Regions from separate parts of the Homo sapiens genome. Here region 1 is linked to region 2. Evidence: promoter capture Hi-C in human tissues and cell types (Jung and others, 2019). All regions are on one chromosome and are shown on one strand. Each heading gives the region's core, a stretch centred on a gene start or on the middle of the fragment in contact. The rest is flanking DNA. Distances are from core to core; before and after follow the strand shown. Region 1 holds the start of CORO1A (coronin 1A). Region 2 holds the start of DCTPP1 (dCTP pyrophosphatase 1).

Region 1 (2,923 bases), core at 401-2,900, 250 kb before region 2:
GCCCGCCTTGGCCTCCCAAAGTGCTGGGATTACAGGCGTGAGGCACTGCGCCCGGCCAGAGCCTCATAACTTTGTGAGGTGGGCAGTTCAAATCTTATTAATTCCCCATTTACCAATGACAAAATGAGGTTCAGAGAGATTAGCCCTCTTGGCCAAGATCGCACAGCCAGTCAGTGGCAGAGGTGGGACTTGAACCCGTCCCTTGCTGTTCCTTGAACTTCTCCACACGACAGGGCTGTCCCTCAGCCTACAGGTCACCCCTCTAGCCTTGCCTGTTGGCTCTTCCTAATCCTTTCAGGCCCAGCCCAGATACTTTTTAAACAAGAATGATGAGAGCTAACTTTTTTTAAAATGAGACGGTCTTGCTCTTTCACCCAGAGAAGACTGGGTGATAACAGTGGCTCAATCTTGGCTCACTGCAGCCTCTGCCTCCAGGGTTCAAGCTATTCTCATGCCTTAGCCTCCTCAGTAGCTGGGATTACAGGGGTGCATCACTACACCACGCTAATTTTTGTATTTTTAGTAGAGATGCGGTTTTACCATGTTGGCCAGGCTGGTCTCGAACTCCTGACCTCAGGTGATCCGCCAGCCTTGGCCTCCCAAAGTGCTGGGATTACAGGCGTGAGTCACTACGCATGGCTGAGAGCTAACGTTTATTAAGCACCCGCCACTTTCTAGATGAGGTCCTTACTGACTTCCTTGGGTTATTTTAGGTAATCATCCCCATACCTCTTACGTGGCAGGTATGACTGTTACAGAGGGAGAAACCGAGGCTGAGAAAGGCTAAGTAGCGGCCACACCTCACTCAGCAGGTGACAGGCTGCGGTCGCACTCATGACATAGTCTGACTCTAGAGCAGGCCTTTCCTGCCCGCTGTTGCTGCCTCCAGAAGCCTCTCTGAATCCAAGGGTGGGAACTATTCCTCCTTGCCCTCGAGCCTTCGCCAAAGCCAGGGCTTGGAGCGGCCGTGGGCTCCTCCTCCTTCCCCCAGGCTGGGCTCTTCAGGGGCGGAAACCTGCCTGGCTTGCCTGCCTTGCTCGACCCTGTAGCCCCTGGCACGAAGTAGGTGCCCGTGATGCCGGATTATTTCAGCAGGAGGGCAGGGGTGTTCCCGATGAAGCCAGGAGATCCAGGGAGGAGAAGCGACTCCCGGGGCCACCCATGCTTAGATCTCAGAGCCAGGCAAGAGCCAGGTCCCGGGGGTCCAGGAGCGCGCTCGGGGCTCCTCCTCGCCCGCGCCCCCCGCGCCCCTCGCGCCCCCCGCGCCCCCCGCGCCCCCTGCGCTCGCGTCTGCGGGGCCGGGAGGAAGGGGCGGCGCAGCCGGGCCGGGGCGGGCACCGAGGCCTGGCGGGCGGGCCTGGGGCGCTTTCGTGCCTGCCAGGGAAAGGCTGGCGAGGAGGCTGGGGGCGGACGCAGGGAGGAAAGAAGCAATGGGGTGCTCTTGCGTTTTGACATTTTAAAAAGAAGTTTAGATTCGCTTCCCGGAGCCGGGATGGCAGCCTGCGCTATGGTTGGGGACCAACGTGGTGCACGGGCAGGGGCCGGGGAGAGAGGCGGCCGCAGCGGGAGCCCGGGAGCGCAGGGCGGGCCTGGAAGAGCTCCGCCCCAAGGGGCGCGGCCACCCCGGAGGCGGGCGCACGGCTGCTTCTCATTCATTGTCTTGACAAGAGCATCTTCAGCGGGCGAGTCCCCGGCTCCTCCAGCTCCTTCCTCCTCTTCCTCCTCCTCCTCCACCTCCGGCTTTTGGGGGATCACTGTCCTCTCTCGGCAGCAGGTGAGGCTGGGCCTGGGAGGCGCGGGTGGGCCGGGGCGAGGGCCACCTGTGGGGCGGCGCGCGCGTGGGAGCCGCGGGCTGCGGGGGCGCGCGGCTGTCACCGCGACCCAGCCAGCGCCGGGGCCAGGTAGCGGGCGCAGCAGCCCGTGGGGGGACGCTGCTTGGAGTGGGGGCCGCCGGGGCCCCAGAGCGCTCTGCGGAGGCGAGGGCTAGGGACCACCGCGGCCAAGATGGAGGTGGGTGGCCGGGGGTCAGCACAGTGTCGAGGGCCCGACTCCCCACGGAATTGAGTCTCGGGGAGGGTGGGGACGAGGGCAGGGTGGGGTGAGCGGGGCAGCTGCCCTGGGCTTGGAGACAGGAAGGGGTTGAGAGCAAAACAAGAAAAGACCAAGTTCCCCTTTCCGTGGTTTCCGGGCCTGGTACCTGTGGTGGGGGAGGAGGCAGGGTGGGGCGATGGCTTCCTGTCCCCCACCTCTGGTCCGGGGCTCCCCTCTCTCCAGATACAGGCTGCTCCTCAAGACTGGGGCTCTTCACATACGCTCCTCACCGCTCTTTGGGCAGGCCGACCTAGCAGCCTCTTCGGGAGTCCTGGGGTGGCCGGGGGTGCTGGAGCCCCCAGTGAGTAGGCGAGGCTGAGGCTAGGGGCAGAGGCTCTGGGCATGGCACCCTCCAAGCGGCAGCACAGGCCCCTTCCCTGAGCAGGAAGGTGATGCGGTGGCACAAGGTCGCCCCTGGAGTTCCTTGCTCCCCACCCAGACACTGGGGGAAACCATCCTACCTGGACCTCAGAGCAGTCGGAGTGGCCTCTCCCTTCCTGTGTGCAGTTTACATGGGGGTGGAGATGGCTCTTAAGGGCACCTGCTTTTCTGAGCGGAGGCGAGAGGCAGAGGTATGGGGAGGAGGAGATACCTGGACCTGAGCCAGAGACCTGCTGGGGAAGCTATCCTGCCGCCTCACTCCCCTCAGGCAGCCCCCACGCCACTTCCTCCTGTGTCCAGCCCCATGCCAGCAGGCGAGGGAGGCCAGCTCCTGTCCCTGCCTTTAGGAAGCGCTGTGTGGGTGTGAGGGAGGTGGGCTCTGGACACGGTAACTAAGAGAGAACCCACCCTCGGAGCCATCTGGGCTGATGACGCCTGAGTCTGAACCATT
Region 2 (2,901 bases), core at 381-2,880:
ATGTAGTTCCCATGTCTGGAATGCCACAGGCAGGTCCTCTACAGAATACCTTCCTTTCAGCCCCAGAGGCAGAGGAAAAGGGTTGTTGGGCCAGGCGTGGTGGCTCACCCCTGTAATCCCAGCACTTTGGGAGGCCAAGGCGGGTGGATCACCTGAGGTCAGGAATTTGAGACTAGCCTGACCAATATGGTGAAACCCCGTCTCCACTAAAAATACAAAAATTAGCCAGGCGTGGTGGGGGGCACCTGTAGTCCCAGCTACTCGGGGGGCTGAGACAGAACTGCTTAAACCCAGGAGGCGGATGTTGCAGTGAGCCGAAATTGAGCCACTGCACTCCAGCCTGGGCGACAGAGCGAGACCCCGTCTCAAAAAAAAGCCAAAAAAACAAAAAACAAAAGAAGGGAAAAGGGTTGTTGCCACTGCTTCTTCCTAGACGGGACCTGTCCTGATGCTTTCACACCTCACACCTCTCTCTTCCAGGAGGCTGAGTGCCCCTAGAGGGCAGGGACCCGTGAGTCCTCTCTGCATCCCAACAACAGCAAAGAGCCTAGCAATCAGGAGGGGAAACTGAACCCATGAATGTTTGAAGACCAAATAAATGCTCCCCTCCCCTCCCCCACAACTCAGACTCTACCAGGAAGCTTTCCATCTACTCACAAGAGTTCTGCCAGCTCCCCCACTTCCCCAACCAAGGCCAGGAGGAGATTCCGAGGCTGATGGAACTGTTCCCAGTCTCGTTCCGCAGCAAACTCAGCATGGAGGCGGCGGCTGAAATAGGACAAAGGAGTGTAAGTCCAAGTCTCCGGGTTAGAGGGTGATGCAGGGGCCAGAGGCAGCTACCCCCGTAGTATGTAATGGGGCCTGGGACCAGGAGATTCTGCAACTAATTCATTGGATGGTATTGTGCAGGTCATTTCCTCTTTCCGGAACTTGGTTCCCTCATCTATAAAATGGGCGTGCCCCTGAACTGCCCTTAACATCTCGCCAAAACTAACAAAACCCTCTTCATTATTCCATCTCCTGCTGCTACTTCTGCAGTTTCCTCCACCTGGAATCGCCGCACATCAAAATGCAATTTCTCTTACAGAAGGTAGTTCCACAGACCCTTCCTCTAAGAAGCCTTTCTTGACCTCCTCCAGCAAAAAATAACGTCTCCCACCTCTCAGCACTTCGTTTGCCCCTCTCGTACCCCCGGCGCCTGGAGAGCAGAGGCGGTATCTGGTGCCGGTATCTTCCCAGGGCTAGGCTGAAGGGCGTTCCTAGTTACCACTCGGAGGCACCACCCAATTTCCCTTGCCTCAGGTGTGCACCGCTGCGCCCATTTTGCAGATGAGGTAAGAAGGCTCACCCAGGGACAGCCCACAGAGCCAGGACCCGAGCCCCGCTGCCAGCCCGCTTCCCGACCACGTGGAGGAACCCTCCCCAAAACGCGGGAGAAAGGGGCGACTTCCCCACCCCGAGCTGGGCCAGGCCTGCTTACATGTCCTCGAGCGTGGGCTCCGGGCTGAAGCTGAACCGGCCGGGAGCAGCAGTGTCCTCTCCCCCCGTGTCCCCACGAATCTCCCCACCGGCCACAGACATGCCGCCCACCGCTGCACCGCGACTTCACGGAAAACCCACGAGCCACGCTCGAAGCCCCGCCTCCAGAGCTCCGACCAATTACGGGAGTTCTCTATTGCCTCACGGGGCGGAGCCTGAGGAAAGAGACCAATGACTTTTGTGGAGTTTGCTACAGCCCTCCCCTTCCCTCACTGGACCAATCTGAGGGAGCTTCAAGCGCGCGTTTCTAGTCTTAGGCCCTGGAATTCTTCCGCTAGGCCCTGTGTCTAAAGGTAGAGGTACCAATTCGACCTGGGGAAGAGACGAAGGGCAGAGGGTGGGGGAAGCGCAGGCGCGTCACTTCGTTTATGGGCGCCAGAGGGCGCCAAAGCGAAACGGCAGCGGAAGAGGGCCCGTCAGGTGGAAAACCCTATAAATGAAAGGCCCTATGCATAGGTATTAAATCAGGGCTTAAGGACGTTGAGAAACCTCGAGGCCAACCCCCACACTATTTGGATGGGATTGAAGGGGAAGAGCGGAGTAAGATCAGACGGCAGTAGGACTTCAGCTCCCCGCCATCGCTGTGTCCTGTGGTTGAAACGATGGAGGTCGCCCCATCCCTGTCCTAAGGGAGGCAGTAGGCCCCAGCGCAACGTACATTGCCCTGAAACACGTGGCCCCTTATGGTCTGGCCTGTGCCGGCCTCTCCAGCCTCATGGGTCCCCAGCACGGCTCCTCCACCCCACACACGAGAACTCCAGGCTCCACTCACACCAGGGAATACGCGAGGTGGCGAGTCACAGGGTTGCTGCTTTCAAATCAGAACCACTGAGTTATTGGCCATGGGAGGAGCAGAGATCTTTATGAAACCCTAGAACAGGTGTAGTCTTGCAAAGAATGATTTATTATTGTACCCTTATTAGGGCTACTATCTCTGATTTCCACGTTTAAAGAGGCTTCCAGCTTGCTGGAAGTGAAAGCGTAAGAAAGCGCAGGAAGAGGCAGAGTCAGATTTTGGAAATTAAAATCCCAAGGCTGTGACAATTGCAATTCTAGGTATATGCCCTAGAGAAATTAATGAATATGTGCAGAGAGACACATGCAAGAAGTTCATTACAGTTTTGTTTCTAAGAGTGAAAAAAATTGAAAATAAAATGACTATCAACGGAAGAATGGCTACATGGAAGTATATTTATACAAATGATATTATCCAGCAGTTAAGATTGGATACATGCAACAGAAACAAGTTTAAACTGCTTTTAGCAAGAAAAAGAAATCTATTATTTTTATTTTTTAAATTTTTTATAGAGACAGGGTTTCACCATGTTGCCTAAGCTGGTCTTGAACCAGGATTGCTGGATT

Evidence for each region. Contacts are between HindIII fragments. The study calls those that stand out against the background at their distance.
Region 1: the fragment with the promoter of CORO1A here is called in contact with the fragment with the promoter of DCTPP1 in region 2 in 1 of the 25 tissues and cell types used here (heart left ventricle).

The regions. Positions count from the first base shown.
Region 1 is chr16:30,181,952-30,184,874 of GRCh38, forward strand. CORO1A (coronin 1A) reads left to right here and starts at 1,651. Exons shown (of 11, transcript NM_007074.4): 1 at 1,651-1,774. It overlaps CORO1A-AS1 (CORO1A antisense RNA 1), which reads right to left and starts at 2,837. Exons shown (of 2, transcript NR_186359.1): 1 at 2,553-2,837; 2 at 1,442-1,820. RefSeq lists enhancers at 404-513, 1,932-2,472, 2,473-2,923 and silencers at 1,234-1,343, 1,484-1,943, 1,974-2,083. The HindIII fragment of the contact is 26,104 bases long and covers 1-2,923 here.
Region 2 is chr16:30,428,400-30,431,300 of GRCh38, forward strand. DCTPP1 (dCTP pyrophosphatase 1) reads right to left here and starts at 1,631. Exons shown (of 3, transcript NM_024096.2): 1 at 1,481-1,631; 2 at 658-768. The coding sequence starts at 1,581. RefSeq lists enhancers at 1-234, 235-735, 1,489-1,568, 1,969-2,078. The HindIII fragment of the contact is 14,232 bases long and covers 1-2,901 here.